Regions from separate parts of the Homo sapiens genome. Here all the other regions are linked to region 2. The links are contacts of gene promoters, found by promoter capture Hi-C in human tissues and cell types (Jung and others, 2019). All regions are on one chromosome and are shown on one strand. Each heading gives the region's core, a stretch centred on a gene start or on the middle of the fragment in contact. The rest is flanking DNA. Distances are from core to core; before and after follow the strand shown. Region 1 has its middle 50 kb from the start of LINC01117. Region 2 holds the start of HOXD9 (homeobox D9). Region 3 has its middle 150 kb from the start of LINC01117. Region 4 has its middle 79 kb from the start of LINC01117.

Region 1 (4,495 bases), core at 946-3,445, 560 kb after region 2:
ATTGAATTTTCCCCAAACCCTCATTTTACAGCTGACAAGGCTTTACTAGCATTTGGAAGTGAACGTCTGAAAGCAGATTTTCCAAGGGGAAGGAATAGTCCAAAATAATCAGCCCAGTTTTCCCGTTTTTCATCCAGATTAACAATCACAGCATCTTCTCCCAAAGCCATGTGGGAGGCGAGGGATCTCCTATGGGGAGAAACGAAGAAGAAAGGGAGGAAGAAGAAAGGCAGTTGAACTGGGCTCTTTCCAGAAGCTTTCAGAGGTGTCGTGCCACCTTTGGTCTGTGACCCTCTGGGCCAGCAGTCCCCTTGAAGCTTTGTGGGATGCAAACAGCCCGTGCTCTGCAGGCTGTCAGGGGCCACGATAGGAGTTCATGCCAATAGAATGGCCTTTCGAGAAGCATTTCTCCATCTCAGAAACACAAACACATATACATTCCTGTCCATATCAGACACACGGGCTTTCCAGTTCACCTTTTCTTTCCTGAACAAGCATATCTATCATGGTCAATGTACAAGAAATGCCCTTTTTGTGCAGTTCCCTTTTGTCCCTCTTTTCATGCCTTAAGCCATCAAAAGAGCACAAAACTCGGTGACATTTTGTAGGATTTACCTCTGAGACTCTGGTGTCACAAACGCAGCTGGGAGTATTGAATGTGTCCTGGTATCAACCAGTGTCCTGAGGGTCTTTCCATTGATTTTACTTCTGAGTTCACAGGAAGACCCAGTGTGCTTACTTTGACTCAGTACTGAGATGTCATTATCCTAGGACAGTTCATATAAAGGGAAGAAAAGGGAAATTCAGGGAAAAAGAGACAGTATAGGCCACATTGAGAAGTACAACTATGAGGCAGAATGAGCTGAACTATCTTACCTGCTGTATTTCAGAATAAAACCTTAGTCCTGCCCCCTTCAAATACTATGCTGTGAAGTCTCCACTGCTCTCGGGATAAAGACCAAGCTCCTCTATGTGGCACACACAGCCTTTCAGCATCCTGCCTCATCCTCCAGTGGCCTCTACTTGCCCTTAGCTAGATAAACTCCAGTCTCCCTGATTCATTTTCAGTGCTAGGATTGTGTAACTCTTGCCTCAAGGACTCTGTACTTGCTGATTCCTCTGCCTTTAGGGACTTTCTCCTTGCTCCTCCCTGGCTTGGCTACCTGACGTGCCGTCTCTTCCAGGAAGCATTCCCTGACCACTCAAGACCTGGCTGCACACCTCTCTTCTGTGCTCCTAGAAATGCCTGCATATTCTGTTCTTATCAAAATGCTTCTCCCACTGATTGAAATTTCCTTTTACATATCTGTTTCCTCTCTAAGCTGCAAGCTGGCTGGAGGGTAGAGGCTATGTCTTATTCAGTATTTTCATATCCAGTTTTTAGAACAGTGCTTGACTCAGAAGTCATTTCATAGATGTTTGTTACTGTGGAAATCCTGAACTTGACGGCTTCTATAGATGACATGCACTTATACTTAAATGCACTAAGGGAATGGAGATAGGTATCCCGTGTTTGTTCCACTGAATTGCAGGCTGCATGAATACCTGTCTGAACCACCATACAGTTCACTCTCTGTTTCTCACATGATTATGCAGTTACAGTGTAGAACTAGAATCATGCCTGTAACACTACTCTATGCTCAGAAGGCATTATTTACATATCCACTCTACATTTATCCGGAAACCACAGCTACTAACTCTACTAACCATTCACACAACCTTGGTAAGTAATTGGTGTAAGTGCATAGATGGCTGATAATGTTCCATCCTCCTTCTATTCTCGATAGCTGAGTTTGGGTTCATAAGCTTAGAGAAAGGCTCCTCAGAGCAAGCTCGTGGTTTGGAGAGTGGAAAAGGCATGCATTTTTATTGTGGCTCTTGTTTCCAAGACTCAGCTAAGACCTGAATAGATAAACAAAAAATATATCATAGAAGCAGCCTATTATTCTCAGGGTTGCTGTGACTGTCCCCAGGGCCTTACAAATTATCAATGAAAAATACAACATACTTTCACAGAATTAAAATGCTTGTTGGGCAAATGGCTCAACTTCAAAGAGTGGCTTTGTTTAGAGCCACCTAGTGACATTTTCTCAGTCCTCCACCCTGGATGGAGAGTGGGAGCCACTACTTACCACCTACCTCCTGCCCCCTTTACCCATAGCTTGTTACATTAAGCTAGGAAAGTTTTATGTGTATAATTTGTGAAGTTCTCTTAAGCAGACAGTGCTATATATATATATATATATATATATGTGTGTGTGTGAAATGCTGTTATTAATAATAAAGGTCGGCTCACCTAAGAATACTGTAGAATTAAAGTAATGAGATTCTATTTTTAGGCAGGCTTGCCAATAACATGCAAGTATGATAAGGCTATGATTTAAAGCTCGCTTGAAGATTCCATTGCTCTAAAGAGTACATTTTCTGGGCTGCCTGCACACAGTAGTCAGCCGCACAGAGCTCTATTAACGCTAATGGTGGCTCCACACGTGAATCCCAGCATGCCCAGCTAAAAATAGGTCTCAGTCTTTCAGACATGGGAGTGTATCCTGCAGACAGCTTGCTTTCACAAAATATATATCAGCCTCTTCAGTCACCTTGCAAAACCCTCATCACTGTCTTTGAAACACTAAAAAAAAGCCTCTAGAATGTGTTTTGAAATTTTTATACATCTGTAATTATGTGAAGATAAAGGATGTGCTTGGGAGGCTCAGTTCTGTTTATATTCAGATGTGAAAAGGTATTTAATAAAGGCCTCGATTCTAAGTGATTCATAACTAGAAAAGAAGTCCCACTCCTCAGGAAAAAATATAATTAGCTCTTCCACCACTAATGTTCAGGTCAATGCTTTGTCAATAACAGTAACTCTTCTTCACCAATTTAGTGCAGCCTATAAAGATCATTATGACTCATAATTACAGATGCAGATTTATGTCAAAATGCATATATAAATCTCCAGTTCTGGATATGGGTCACCTCTTATCAGGCAAAAAGATTAGTATAAGGAGACACTCTCCTTGATCCCTGTGATCATTTTTCTCTTGCCTTTTTGGGGGTAGAATTATAAGGGTTTCCTATCACTGACCCAGATATAGCCCAAGGCACATTACAGAGTCACCTCTGGAGGGAGTGAGTTGCTGGCTGGCTTTGGTGGTGAGAATGGGAGAAGGACGATGTAGCTGTGGAAATATACTTCCTGAGATTATTGCTGTCTGGTTAAATGAAGAGCCCCTTTTCAACACCTGCAGGTCAGCCCCTGTAAATCAGAGGGAAGATGATCATCTGAGCAGAGGGAGATGGGTTTTAAAATGACTGAGACTTCTCCAGGCCGAAGTCTACTGCTCAGTGCTGCACCCAGGGCAGTCGTAGTCCTGATAAGTTATCAAAATTTGTGGAAGCTTGAGTGACTGAATGGGATGTTATGTTGGCCTTGCCAAAGATTTTGTCGTGTTAGGATTTGGGTTTTGATGCATTTCCTGCTAGGAAGTCTGAGGTTTGGAATGTCACCTGGTCTCCAGAGAATCTCCCTGATGGTAGAGGGGCAGGATTTCCCCAGCACCTGCGGAGGATGTGAAAAAGGCACCCACCCTCTGTGTGTGCACAGGTAACTGCTGAAAAATTGCTAGTTCTTCTATTTAATAACAGCCTGAATGCTGAGTTTGGGAGATTACTATGAGAATGCCCAGAGACTCCACTTTTTTCCTACTGCAGAGCTCAACCCGATATACTTAGAAAAGATAATTGCTGTTTAATATGGCAACTCTCAGACAGTGTTAATAAAAAAAATGCATAGACAGTTAAACACACACCTACCCTATGACCAAGCAATTCAGCTTTTGTGAATACACTCAAAAGAAGCAAGTACATATGTCAACAAAAAGACCTGTACAGGAATATTCAACACAGCTTTATTCATAACAGCCCAGGCCTGGAGACAACCGAAATGTCCATCAACAGGTGAATGGATAAACAAACTCTCATATATCTCTGCATTCAGCAAGAGCAAGCAATGAACTACTGATTCCCGTACAACACAGTTGAATCTAAGAAATGTTGCATTAAGTGAAAGGAGCCAGACACAAAAGAATCCACTGTGTATGAATCCATTTATATGAATTTCAAGGACAGGCAAAACTAATCCATCAAAATAGAAATCAGAATACTAGCTATTTCAGTGGGGCTGAGGGTTATTGACTAGAAAGGTGCACAAGGGAACTCACTTGGGTGATGAAAATGTTTTATATCCTAATCTGGGCAGTGGTTAACATGGTATATACATATGTAAAAAATTCATTGGGCTGTATACTTAAGATTTATGCATTTTGCTGTTTGTAAATGATAGCTCAATAAATAGAAGTTTTTAAAAGCTAGGTGGAAAAAATACATGGAGAAGAACTCATTTCTTAAGAGCAATCATGAACAAAGACAAAATCAGGAAGATATTCTAAAGACTAAATGAAAAAGAATAAATGAAAAAATATGAGCCTTTTATTCT
Region 2 (4,674 bases), core at 337-2,836:
CCAAAACCAGGAACATTCCAAGACAGAACTCTTTTAGGGGGCCATTTCCTGGGGGTGGGGGAGAGGGCTTGGAATCAATGCTAGATTGAAAACGTTGTAATAGCTTTGCCCCAGACTTAACACCGGTTGGGCAGGAGGAGGGTAATTTTTATTTAGCCGTTTCTCCGATCATGTGGGGAATACCATTAGCTGTTGATAGCGGGCCATGTATCCGAGGAAAGCCTGAGCTACAAGGCAAAGGCATCCCATCTGGAACAAAATCAGAAAGCTATTGGCAAAGGTAATCAATCAGGCCATAAATAGCCATTTACCCGCTTCCTTTTCGGGGCTGGAGGTGGGCCGGGAGCCCTCCAAGGGTGAGCTGGGCAACTTGTAGAGCAAGGAATATGCCCTCCGCTGCCGGCGCCCCGGCCGCTTTTGTCTGGGCTCCCAGCCGGGCTTCCGAGGCTTTGTACCATGGATTTGGGAGTGACAATGGGCATTTCCCTCAGATTCAAGGCTGCTCAACCTCACCTCTGTAGGGGGAAAAAAATCAGAAGGGAGTGTCCCAAGGACCTAGCCATTCGGCCGAATTTTTTAGACATTTTGGGAGTCTCCTCCGAGGCCTTTAAGTGCGAACCGCGCGAAGCGGCCCTGCCCGGGGAGACTCGCTGAGGCAGGGCTGAGGCGGCGGGCGGGAGCAAGCTGCTCTAGCATTTGGGTTCTGCCCTGTGGCGTGTTCTCTTCCAGGGCCTTTCCAGCATCATCGGAGAAGACGAAGCACCCTGGCCGCCACTGTCCGTGCTGCGCCAACTCGCCCGGCCGCCCGCCCTTCCGAGGGCAGGCAGAAGCCCCTCTGTGTCCTCCACCGCCGCGCCCCGGCTCGCCCCTCGGGCCGCGGCGTGTGCCCAGCCTCACGTCGGGGTGTGTGTGGCCGCGCGGGCGTGTGTGAGTGTGGCAGGGGGAGGGGGCCCTCCGATCTGCTCCATCCGTCCGTTTTATTAGGGACACATTAATCTATAATCAAATACACCTCATAAAATTTTTATTGAAAGGCATAATATCATTACAGAGGTCTTCCACCTGTTTTAAACAACACGACAAGCTGTGAGCAAGCGTGTGTGTGGGGATGTGTGGGGAGGGGTGGGTGTGAGTAGGGAGAGAGGCGAGGGGAGAACAGCTCCCCTCGGGCGCTAGGGGCCGCCCCGAGGGCCCGCCTGCCTCGGGCGACACCGGCCTGGCGCCCCCGCGGCCGCTCCGTGTGCCCTGGACTCGCCGCCCGCGGCTCGGAAGCTGGAGAGTCAGCGACGGGGCCCGACTGCGGGACCGAGGGCTGCAAGAAGAAGCGAACAAATAGTCCCCAGCGCCTCCTCTGGATGCGGTCGCGTCTGTGGTCCTGGCAGCCGCTGGGCGGGCCAGGCCAGGTCGGGCCGGGCCGAGCCGGGCACATGGACCTGGGCCTGCGGGCTCTAATTGCGGCGCTTATGTTGATGATTTTTTTTTTAATCACAGCAGCCCCCAGTTTAGCGGACTGATTTACTCCCGGTATTGGTAAATATGATCACGTGGGCCGCGCGACCAATGGTGGAGGCTGCAGCCTGCGAACTAGTCGGTGGCTCGGGCGCCGGCGGGGAGCTGCTCGGCGGCGGACAGTGTAATGTTGGGTGGGAGTGCGGGACGCCTCAAAATGTCTTCCAGTGGCACCCTCAGCAACTACTACGTGGACTCGCTTATAGGCCATGAGGGCGACGAGGTGTTCGCGGCGCGCTTCGGGCCGCCGGGGCCAGGCGCGCAGGGCCGGCCTGCAGGTGTGGCTGATGGCCCGGCCGCCACCGCCGCCGAGTTCGCCTCGTGTAGTTTTGCCCCCAGATCGGCCGTGTTCTCTGCCTCGTGGTCCGCGGTGCCCTCCCAGCCCCCGGCAGCGGCGGCGATGAGCGGCCTCTACCACCCGTACGTTCCCCCGCCGCCCCTGGCCGCCTCTGCCTCCGAGCCCGGCCGCTACGTGCGCTCCTGGATGGAGCCGCTGCCCGGCTTCCCGGGCGGTGCGGGCGGTGGCGGTGGTGGTGGAGGCGGCGGTCCGGGCCGCGGTCCCAGCCCTGGCCCCAGCGGCCCAGCCAACGGGCGCCACTACGGGATTAAGCCTGAAACCCGAGCGGCCCCGGCCCCCGCCACGGCCGCCTCCACCACCTCCTCCTCCTCCACTTCCTTATCCTCCTCCTCCAAACGGACTGAGTGCTCCGTGGCCCGGGAGTCCCAGGGGAGCAGCGGCCCCGAGTTCTCGTGCAACTCGTTCCTGCAGGAGAAGGCGGCAGCGGCGACGGGGGGAACCGGGCCTGGGGCAGGGATCGGGGCCGCGACTGGGACGGGCGGCTCGTCGGAGCCCTCAGCTTGCAGCGACCACCCGATCCCAGGCTGTTCGCTGAAGGAGGAGGAGAAGCAGCATTCGCAGCCGCAGCAGCAGCAACTTGACCCAAGTAAGTGCAAAAGAAATTGCCCCCTGATTTATTGCTGAAACCTGTAAGGCTCGAATGTGCAAAACTGATAGTTTTACTAACCTATAAAAACGTCTAGACGCCTACCCAAGCCTAGGCGAACAACATGCATCCATAAAAAGAGCTTCCCATAACCACCTACCCTGGGCGCTCAGTTAGTACGGTAAACAGAGCGCGAGCATTAAGGCTTTTTATGATAATTCCCCACAAGTTGTGAAAAGCGACCATCCTTGGTGAAATTAATTTAACGACCTCTCTTCCCCACCCTGTGGTCTCTCCCTGCCTCCCCTCCTCTCCTCTCTCCCCGTCTCCAAACCTCCCTCTTTGTAGACAACCCCGCCGCGAACTGGATCCACGCTCGCTCCACCCGGAAAAAGCGCTGTCCCTACACCAAATACCAGACGCTTGAGCTGGAGAAAGAATTCCTCTTCAACATGTACCTCACCCGGGACCGGCGCTACGAGGTGGCCAGGATTCTCAACCTAACAGAGAGACAGGTCAAAATCTGGTTTCAGAACCGTAGGATGAAAATGAAAAAGATGAGCAAGGAGAAATGCCCCAAAGGAGACTGACCCGGCGCGGTGCTGGCGGGAGCGCTCAAGGGCAGCGGATTTGTTGTTGTTGCTGTTTTCCTTTGTGGGTGTTTGGTGCTTGATTTCCAGAAACTCTCCAGCGACTTGGACTTCTTCTTCTTTTTTTTTTTCTTTTTAGATAGAAGTGACTGTGTGGTTGGTCTCTGAGGTATTTGGGGGACTCTGTATTTGCTCGTTTACGTGTTGGAAAAACCAAGTGGCTTTGGGGTTTCGCCCTATCCCACTCCCTCTCTTTCCTGCTCCATTGGTTCCTTAAGAAATGCTATATTTTGTGAGTGCAAGCTGGCTTGGGGAGCCCTCTCTTGTGTAAATGTCCCCCATGTTTCTGAAAAGTGCTGTAGTTTAGTCCCCTCACCCCCAGCACTGCCCAAACAGGGGCCAAGTGCGCCCCAATTCCAAGAATGAAGGCAGAGCGACAACAGTGCGGACACCCCGGCTGCTAGCCCACGGTGAAGCCCGGCGGGGTTGCCCACCAGTTGCGAAAGCCCCCTTTCCTCAGGGAGCACGCGGGACCTCGGTGGAGATCTCCAGTGAGGCTTAGAGGAGCCCAGGGCCTCGGGCGGGTTGGGGTTTGTCCTCAGTGCATTGGACGCGCTGCTCTCTCCCCTGAAGGCTGGGCTCGCGTGGGCGGCCGCGGGTGGTGGCCCTCCCGGTTCCTGCCCGAGGACCAGTTGTAAATGTTACTGCTTCCTACTAATAAATGCTGACCTGATCAAATGGAGCCCAGACGCTGGCCCTAAACATTGTGTGCCTGCTTTCTCTGCCTCTCTGCAAAATATCACACTCAGGATATTTCTCCTCTACCCCTGGGAGTGAGACATTGTTAAAAATTCAGGGCCCTTCCACCTGACAGATCTCTCTGATGTGTCTCTGCCTTCTCTGCCTCACATCCCTTTGTGTAGGCAGATGCAGCAGCACAGACCCTGTGGGGGGACATTGGTGCCTCCCCAAGCCTGGTTCAAGGTCCTCCACGAACTCTGTGCTTGGGCCCAGTGTTAGCCTTGCAGAAGCGCCCAGAAGAGCCAGCAGGCCCCAGAAGCCAGGCACTTTCAGGCTGGGGCTTGGGTACACAGCACCCTAACCTTCCCTGGGCTCCTGAAGCCCCAGATGCCAAACCCCTCTCCAAACAAGGGAAAGGCCAACTCTACACTCTGGAGCAACTGTCCCAGCTCGGTGGGGCTAGCTGGCTCCGGGAGGTCCCAGCTGGTCAGGCTGTGAGCTTCTGCTCCTCCCCACCAAAGCCCCAAAGTGACCTTAGCGATCAAAATGGTCAAGGCTCTCCTCCCCAGCCACCTCCATTTCACCGCCCCCTTCCCCCCACCCAGCTTCTGTGTATGTTTAGCCCCCAGCTTGGCCCTCTGAGGGCTGCATTCAGGGGCTAAAATGAAGGTCATTGTAAGTGAGGGTTTGGGTGAGCACAGCATTTGCAGGCCAAAGAGGCAGCACTGCCAAGTGGCCTGAGCTGGGTGGAAGGTGGGGGCGGTGGCAGAGATCTTGGGGGATCCCAATGAAAGAGGGGACGCGAAGAAAAAGCATAGGGGGGCTGGGAGGGAAAGCCAAGGAAGGCCCAGATCCGGCAGAAGGTGCTGCGCACCCCTGCCACTGTGGCC
Region 3 (4,287 bases), core at 1,687-4,186, 670 kb after region 2:
TGCATCCCAGAGAAAATCACTTTTTTCAGGTATAGTGCAGAACTGCATTCTATTTTAGATCCCCAGCTGAAAATATGGTAGGAATCCTGCTAGATATACTGACCCACTGACCATTATTACCTTTTCCTGCTCATCTTTTGATTATCTCCTCCACTTCTCTTTGCTACTTAGGGACACTGGATTTTGTGGATGCTCCTTGGACACACTGGAATGCACCTTGGGCAGCCCGTGGATCATTTTCCCCAGTATGAAGCATGGGAGGAGCTGGAAAATGAACTCATGAGCCAGTTGAGCCAGCACAACAAGCTGGAGCCAGGTAGGCCTGTTCATGATCCGAACTATATTTATTATCTGACTTTGCTTCCAGAAGCTGCATAGCCAGAAGTCAATTTTTCCCATTGATATTGGACCAACTGAAAGAATAGAAAGATTAAATTGATGAGAGGATTGGCTGTCATATAGAGCTTTTCTCTCATCTTTGGCCAAGAAGGGAGAATCAAACATAGTGCTCAAGGCTTCAATTGGAGTAGGCACTCAACTAATATTTATTGCATGAATAAATGAATGACTGACTGGAGAATAAGTGTTTCCCTTCATTAATAGTATATCTTTCCCTTAACTTGTTTAAGTTCCTTCTATGAGAACTTCTAATGAGAAGCTTTGACTCACAATGTTGTAAATATTGCTGTTTCTGTCTTATATAGACCAATTATTACATTAAAATTGTAATATCTTTTACTTCTCTTTCTTGGAGAAAACTTCCCAGGGACAGTGAGACTTTTTTCAGACAAACAGCTGCTTTGGAATTCATAAAACCACTGGTATTTTAAACTCTACAGATGATACCAAAATGTTTTTTTTAAAAACTAAAAAGAATAACAGACGGAATTTATTATCTCATCTTGGGAGTGGGGGCAGTGCAGCATGCACTTAGATCAAGAAATTTCCTGAGTTGTGAGTGGATGTGACTCACTTTTTATACCAAGGCCATGGAATATTAAGGGACCATTTTCCATCTCTATCTTCCTGAAATGGTATCATTTCTACATCATTGATGATAAATGTATTATGTTTTCTGTTAAATATCCTATTATCTGGGGGAAAAAAGAGGCATTGGTGTTACCAGTGGTTAGAAAAGAACCTTTGTATATCTCTAAGTTTTTACATCTTTAATTGGGATTATTCTTTTCTCTATTTCTCTCTCTCTCTCTACCCCCTTCTTTTCTTTCTTTCTTCTTCCTTTCTCTCTTAATATACATCTACTTCTCTTGAGCAATTACATGTCTTTGGTAACTCTCATCAACATAAATTGTCAACATTATTATGAGCCTGTGAGTTTTCATCCTGAAGTGATGCAGTGGAAGTTTCACTGAGGCAATATCTTGGTGATATTCTCCTTCCAGTAGGGCTGGGTTGTTGGGCTAAATGTGCAGTTGAAGAGAGACCCCCACCCCCACCCTCCAGAATCACCAAGAAAGTTCTGTGGTTATCGACAGTGGGAATTGAGCCAGCTACAGTTAACTTTCAACAATAAACCAACTGGGATATCTCTGTGTCCTCATCAGCATGTGCATTCAAATGAGCTCCCATTAGCATTATTATCCCAAATTTCTTTCTTTTGTCCCACCCTGCTGAAGCATCCCTGCCAAGGCCTCCCAGTGAATTCCTGGGAGTCCCCAAGGAGTGTCTCGCCTCCTCACATGCCTGCCAGTCAGGTCCTTAAGCAGCCCCACACCTTCCTCTCCTGGATCCTCCACCCATGCCAGGCTGGAGGGAACCTCACTATAGCACCAGCTGGTGGTGCCTATGGTAAGAACGAAGTGTAACACTGGTGACATCTCCCTAACCCGCTAGTCTTCAAGAAGCCAGAGCTGTCTGGGTGCCTCAAAGAAGTAGGGGAGAATGGTCCTCAACCCTAGTTCTGTGCCATACTTTGATATGCACAAGAGTGGCCATGTTGGGGTCCAGGTGACAATGTCTCTTGAAAATAGCTCCTTCAGACTCTGGCCCTTACCCTTCTACCCACCAGGTGATAACCCAGTCCAGGGGATCAGTTGCAGATGGAGGTTAGATCATGGCTTCAACTCTCCATGGCTATGCCCCCATCTCAAAACTATGCAAAACAACAAACAGAAAGAAGTCACTACCACCACCACCAACACACTCTCCTTGCTCCAAAAACAAGAGCTCTTGTGGATATCAGATTATACAAAGTTGTACGCAGAATAGTCACTACTCTACTCTATGCTGTTCCACAAGCAGCCTAATTCTGACCCTCCACCTGTGCTCAGCAGAGCCTCACGCTACTGTGCTCTACATGGTAGCCCCCACTTTCCATGTTCTGCACACCCTTGCTGGAGACTCCGCCATTCGCTTACTCACTGTGCGTTATAAGCATGATGCAATGAGCATTCCTTGCCTCCTTCACTTGTGCATTCAGCAGTTCTGCTGGTATCAGTTAGCCACAGCTAATGTTGTACATCAAACCACACTCAAACTCCATGGCTTAACAGAATAATCATCTATTCTCCCTCATATATTTGGGTTTGGCTGATCCAGGTTCAGTTCAGCTGGGCTTGATTTCAAGCTACAGATTTGGTCCAGATGTGCTCCTTATGTCTTCTTCACCCTCTTTGGACCAACAGGCTAACCAGGACATTTCTTCTCATGGCAGAAGCAAAAGAAGGGCCAGCCCAACTGCACAAGTACATTTGCAGGCTCTGCTTATATCAAGTCTACTAGTATTCTATCGAGCCAAGCAAGTCACAGGGCCAAACCCCACGTCAATGAAGCAGAGAGGTACTGCCTCCATGGAGGTATAGAGGGGCGGGAATTGGGGATGGTGGACAGGGAGTGAATATTTGCTAAATGATAGATTAGACTATCACAATGCTCAAGCTCTAACTTAAATGGTCAGTAAACAAGTATCAAATGTAGTCAAGAAAATACCAACGGAGCTATTTTTGCCTGAAACAGGCTGCTCTAACAAGTTTATGTGGAAGCATACATCCATGTTTCATATTGTGGGACCATGTGTACAAATGTTTCACATCAAAGCATTACCACTTGCCTTCTTGGTCAGCTCCCAGCTGATTTTGTTTGAAACAGTCACGACTTACTCAGTGAGGGACCTCTGGTTTCCAGAACCAATTCTGCCTTGTCTTTCAAGAAATCATTCCTGCTTTCTCTGCCTTATATTCCATCTGAACTTCCTCTTTCACTATTGCCCCATTTCCATATCTCCTGTGTTCAGACTTCCCTGTTGTCCCAAAATGTTTCTGGAGAAGTCTGTAATAGCTTTCCAAATTCAAAAGAAGGAAAAAAACAGAGGTCCTTTTCTATCACTCTTCTTCCAGCTTAAATTATGTGTGTGTGTTAATATATACATGTATGGGTGTATTTATGTGTTTGTATCTATAAAGAGAATATATGTGTGTGTAATGTAATTATTACTCTTATTACTGGTGATGAAACAGAGATTAAACAAACAAAAACAGTAAAGACATATACAGCACTCACCCCTTCCTGCAGGTGAGGAGAGTTGCAACACTATATTTGGGATCCTTCTTGCTTCTATTGTTCTGCATTCTCTTTGATCTGAAATAGTAACATAGAAATTTTCTTTCACAGGGAAAAAGATATCCTTTTTAGCCACATGTTTAATTCTTCAATGTCAATATTTGCAGAAAACATGAGCACAGCATGATATTGCCTTAGAGTTGTTGATTAATCCCATTCGGAAGCTTCCCTAAGTTTTTTTTTTGATCTTCAGTTCATCATTAGTCTGGTAATGGTGTGTGTGCCTCTGTGAGTGTATTATTGTATTGCCCCAAAGCCTAATAATGATGACAGTGAGGCTTTATTGTGGATTAAGTTTACAGACTTCCTCATTCCCATCCAGTTCCATGGGAGTAATGACTTAACTCAGCTTCCATGGGAAATAGAGACCAGCCATAGATGCCTGAGAGGAGTAATGGTGGCACTGATGTAATCTCCAACCTAGATATGCCAGGGATGTTTGTCACCTGTTTAAGAAGCTAAAATGTCACCATGGAGTCTACAGTTTTTTTGATAACCATTTCATCTACAAAACAAAGGAGGTGTGTGAACACATGAAATGAAAAATAAGAGACACTGTGAGCTAGGGGAGCCCTGGATGCCCTCCAGGAGTCTCTACGTCTTGGGGCACTGAGGTCCTCTCCCAGGGCTGGGCACAAGGAGTCTCTCATTGTGCTCACCCTTTTCCCTGCCTCACTCTGGCTTTTGGATGAGAGTAAATAGAACTGA
Region 4 (4,462 bases), core at 452-2,951, 590 kb after region 2:
TTGATGTTAATTAGGATGAGAGGTTGCATGCTTTGCTCCAAGTGTGCACCACATTGGCAGCAAAGACATATTTGCTCCACCTTCATTACCTCTGAAGAAGAAAAGTCTACAAAACCCCCAAAGGTTGCCAAAGTTGGCCTTTGCTACCCTCTCCCCACTGCTTTGTTTTCAAATGCATCCTTCTCTAGGTGGCAGCCCAGATTCCTATCTCCCATCTTTTCCTGGCCCAATCTATTCTCATAATGGCTGTGATGCTGGCTGCGCATCAAAAATTTGTGCTCCTCCTTCCATGTGGCTCTGGAAAGTGGATGCCTAGGAGAGATCGTATTTCCCAGTTCCACGTGCATCTTGGTAGAGCCATGGACTAGTTCTTACCACTAGTCTATGGGCAATAAGGTGTATCCAGCTTTGGCCAAGGTGGTTAAGAAGACTTCTTCACACCCTGTCTTTCCTCTTCTGTACTGTTAACAGAGGACGTAAGGATGCCAGGGGGCCACAGTGTGGAAGGAGTCTAAATCTCTCAGTTTCCACATGGAGGAAAGCTGGCTGCTCACCATGACACCTACCTTGTACTGTTACATGATTAAAAAGTAAAATATTTTGTGATAAACCACTGAAATTGTATGGTTTGTCAGAGCAGTAAGCTTTATCCCAGCCCAGATAATACATTATGGTCCCTATTCATTCTTAGTGGGTGATATAGTTGGATATTTTTCCCCCAAAATCTCATGTTAAAATGTAATCCTCAGTGTTGGAGGTGGGGTATGGTAGGGGGTGATTGGATCATGGGGGTGGATTTCTCATCAGTGGTTTAGTGCCATCCTCTTGGGGCTGTCCTCATGACAGTGGGTGAATCCCCATGAGATCTGGTTGTTTCAGTATGGTACCTCCCCGCTGCACTCTCTCTTGCTCCTGCTTTCACCATGTGACATGCCCGCTTTCGCTTCACCTTTTGCTGTGAGTAAAAGCTCCCTGAGGCCTCCCCAGAAGCTGAGCAGATGTGGGTGTCATGCTCTTACAGAACTATGAGCCAATTAAACATTTTTTCTTTTTAAATTACCCAGCCTCGGGTATTTTTTTTATAGCAATGCAAGAATGACCTAACACGGCTGACTAAACACTAATGCCCAGGATTAAGTCAGAGAATGATGACACCCTCCTACTGGAGGATTTGTGTTTTGCTTGGGGGAACTGCCTACCCTTGTCCTCTGTCAAATGATAATGTTCATGGTTGTACATGCCAACCACATGGTGACTGACCCTGCCATCCATCAACATGATGAGGAGAAAATAGGGCTGGTTAGAATCAGAGTTCCTGGATCTGAGTTCTAATAACTTAATACTTAGTGGGTACTGAGCAGGCTATTTAACTCCCAGAGCCATGGTTTTCTCATCAGGAAAGTGGGGGGGAGTGTTGTCATGTTCAAGACTTTGGAACCTGACAGCCCCCAGTTTGCGATCTACAAAATCTTTACGAATTCCTTACTCTTTGTAAGACTTGGTTTTCTCAACTGCAAAATGCAGATAAGAACACCTTTCTTGTGAGCTTATTGGCTTACTCATTCAATAATTTATTTATGCATTCAACAAGTATTTACTGAGAACTTTCTCTGTGCCAGACAAAATTACAAATACAGGAATACAATTGTGAACAAGACAAAGTTTATGTCCTTATGAAGCTTATAGTGGCCATGGTAGATAATAAACAACAAATAAACCTGTATTCAACTAGTATGGTGAGGTGAAATGAGCTTATGACTGTAAGTCTCTTACACAGTGCCTGGTACATGGTGAAGACTAAGAAGTGGGAGATATTATTAATATTAACTATAAAGATGAAAATGCTGAGTAATTACATTCAAAAGGATCCAGTAGGGCTATTGTGAGGATTAGATGAAATTAGTGTTTATAAGCTATTTATTTTATCTGCTTACTTGGTGATTAATTGAAGCAAATATAAAGAATATGTTAAGTTTCCCCTCACTATTTCAGTGAGGTTGGGATATTTTTGGTTCGCATAAGCCACTTGTTTCTTGAGAGCAGAGGAACCACAGTCAAAATGTAGCCCCCACCCCATGCCAATCTAAGTCGCTTTGAGGTGTTGTGTCTGCCCTCGAGCAGAAATAATTTAACTTTGGCTAAATCAAATGCGGGAGAACAGGACTCTTCGAATGGCTCCTGGATTCTGTCATTGGCACAAAGTGCCTGGACCCTAAATAGAAGCTCCGACTTTACTGGCACCAGTGTCCATCTGCCGGACAGCGCCTCTCGGAACCCTGATGTGCAATAACTGTGCACTACCTCTGAGTAAAAAATAGTTAGCTTCAATGCGTGTATGGGAAGGGGAGTATGTGAGAGCAGGCAGGTAAAAGGATTTGCAAGGTACTATCTCTTTTTGAGATTCTTGCCATGTGATTTTCCTACAAACAGGTGAGCAGAGCACACTGTTAGCTAGTAGATTAGGTTGCATAAGTAGAATGAGCATAAAAGTTATCCATTGTGGACACTTTTGAGTGTGAAAGGGAACAGTATTAATAATTATGTCAGGACAGCAAGAGTAAGTCAGGGCTGCCCTGGGCAGCAAAAAGAGACACATGTCCACCCTGAGCACATGTCCTCAGGAAAAAAGCTCTTATTGATTTCTAACAATCACGAGGAAACAGAAAATATACAAAAGTAGCCACAGAAGTTTTATTAACATCTTAAATGCCCTTACTTTGCATACTATGTACTTAGTATGTAATGCATTGTATAACATGTGCTTCTTTAAACTATAGAGCTGCGGTATACAAACAGGTTTTTGCAACCTGTTCTCTAATTTTAGCAACATGCTGTAAACATTATGTCCAGTCTTTGAATATAACATACAATATTTTAAAATACAAGAAAAAGAGGGAGAGAAAAAAATCATCTTCCTTTAAATGAGTTTGCTTTTACATAGGGATATAACATGGTGAGTCGGAAAAATACAATAAAGCCTTTTGATGCTTCATATTTTCTGAAAACCTAGAGGGGAAGAAAGGGGAGGTCCTAAGAGGGGAGTTAATAGTCATAGTTTACCATTTCTCACCAGTCTAGAGCAGGGATTAGCCCAGAATTTGGCAGTGAAGGGGTATGGGCAAAGTATTCCCAATAGGGTCTTCTGGTAACTGAAGTTGGAAGAAGTGCAGAACTTTTATCAGCAGGCCTCAAAGAGGGGAACAGAAACAGCGGGGAGATGGTAGTGTCCTGTTGCCTTGGGCCATTCCAGAGCAGTGAGTATAGGGCCCTCTCTCTTCTGGAGCACAGTGCATGGTCCTAAATCTTACCAAGAAGGGCCAGGTTGGTTCTCCTGGAAGCAGACTGAGAGACGCTGATTTTCCTTAGGAAGTGGGTTGAGGTGTGCCCTTGGAGCAATACCTGTGAAGGAGCAAGGGCAGCAGGACTGGGCAGAGGGAGGAGTTGAACTGTGATGCAGTTACAAACAAAGGCCTCAGCGGATCCCACGGGGGGCTCTGGACTGGGATGGCCCTTCAGAGTTGTCCTACATTAAGGAAAGAGTCTCAAACCTTTGGATCCCTGTCCTTATCTCCATAGACTAATCTCCATCTACTACTACAGAGAGGAGACATGGCCTTGGATGAGGTAGCTCTCTTCAGCTGAAGGCAATGCTGGGAGAGGAACTCAGCTGACAGCTGGCAGCTACCAACACTCCTAGAGCCTGGGGGAAAGAATACTACAGTCCTGGATGGGGAATCTGGGCTACCTACCATAGCATACCCTACCCAAGTGGTTCCCAAACTTTAGCACAGTGTATCCCAGTCACCTGGTGGGCTTGTTAATATACAGACTCCTGGGCTCCATCCCTAATGTTTCTGATCCATTAAGTCTGGGACAGGGTCAAGCATTTGTATTTCTAACAAGTTCCCAGGAGTGCTGACCAGGGTGTCCCACTTTGAGAACCACTGTAGTACATCAGGCATTTAGGAACTCATGCTCAGGCACAGATAGCTCACCAATCCTTTAAAAATATACAGCTAACAGCCATTCAAGTTTGTACATTTCAAAGCTGAATCAGGCAGCTTTTACTATCTGTAAGATCTCAGGTTTCTGCTTCTTTAAGTGACAATTTAGGGACCAGAAAAGAAAGTCCTGTTGCAATGCAGCATTTATTTGGAGGGCTTTAGGTCTCAGTGTCATAAATTATCTCAATTTTCCAGAGGCCAGTAGCTGCTATTTGAAATTGTCATGAGCAATTCATTCCTTTACCTTAAGCATAACGGCCTAGAAAAGAGAAAGAAACTGGTTGCTTAGCTTACAGAATTTCTCCCCACAGCTGCATCTGTGCTACCTGGCATCTGTTCTTCTAGTGGACCACTCCTCTTGCCCCTGCTTGTACCATTTAGTCCAGTTCAGAAGGATCATGCCCTCATTGGACTGTGGCCTCCATAACTGGTTTAAGGGTAGACATGAGACCCAACTG

The links. Contacts are between HindIII fragments. The study calls those that stand out against the background at their distance.
Region 1: a contact is called between a fragment that was not itself captured here and the fragment with the promoter of HOXD9 in region 2, in 1 of the 25 tissues and cell types used here (bladder).
Region 3: a fragment that was not itself captured here is called in contact with the fragment with the promoter of HOXD9 in region 2 in 2 of the 25 tissues and cell types used here (heart left ventricle and liver).
Region 4: a contact is called between a fragment that was not itself captured here and the fragment with the promoter of HOXD9 in region 2, in 1 of the 25 tissues and cell types used here (IMR-90 fibroblasts).

Annotation. Positions count from the first base shown.
Region 1 is chr2:176,685,032-176,689,526 of GRCh38, forward strand. No RefSeq gene overlaps it. Among named protein-coding and RNA genes, the nearest start is that of LINC01117, 50 kb to the left of the region's middle. The HindIII fragment of the contact is 4,440 bases long and covers 1-4,415 here.
Region 2 is chr2:176,121,133-176,125,806 of GRCh38, forward strand. It overlaps HOXD9 (homeobox D9), which reads left to right and starts at 1,587. Exons shown (of 2, transcript NM_014213.4): 1 at 1,587-2,453; 2 at 2,802-3,805. The coding sequence starts at 1,637. The coding sequence ends at 3,043. The HindIII fragment of the contact is 11,890 bases long and covers 1-4,674 here.
Region 3 is chr2:176,789,048-176,793,334 of GRCh38, forward strand. No RefSeq gene overlaps it. Among named protein-coding and RNA genes, the nearest start is that of LINC01117, 150 kb to the left of the region's middle. The HindIII fragment of the contact is 7,005 bases long and covers 1-4,287 here.
Region 4 is chr2:176,714,124-176,718,585 of GRCh38, forward strand. No RefSeq gene overlaps it. Among named protein-coding and RNA genes, the nearest start is that of LINC01117, 79 kb to the left of the region's middle. RefSeq lists a silencer at 863-942. The HindIII fragment of the contact is 4,268 bases long and covers 1-3,835 here.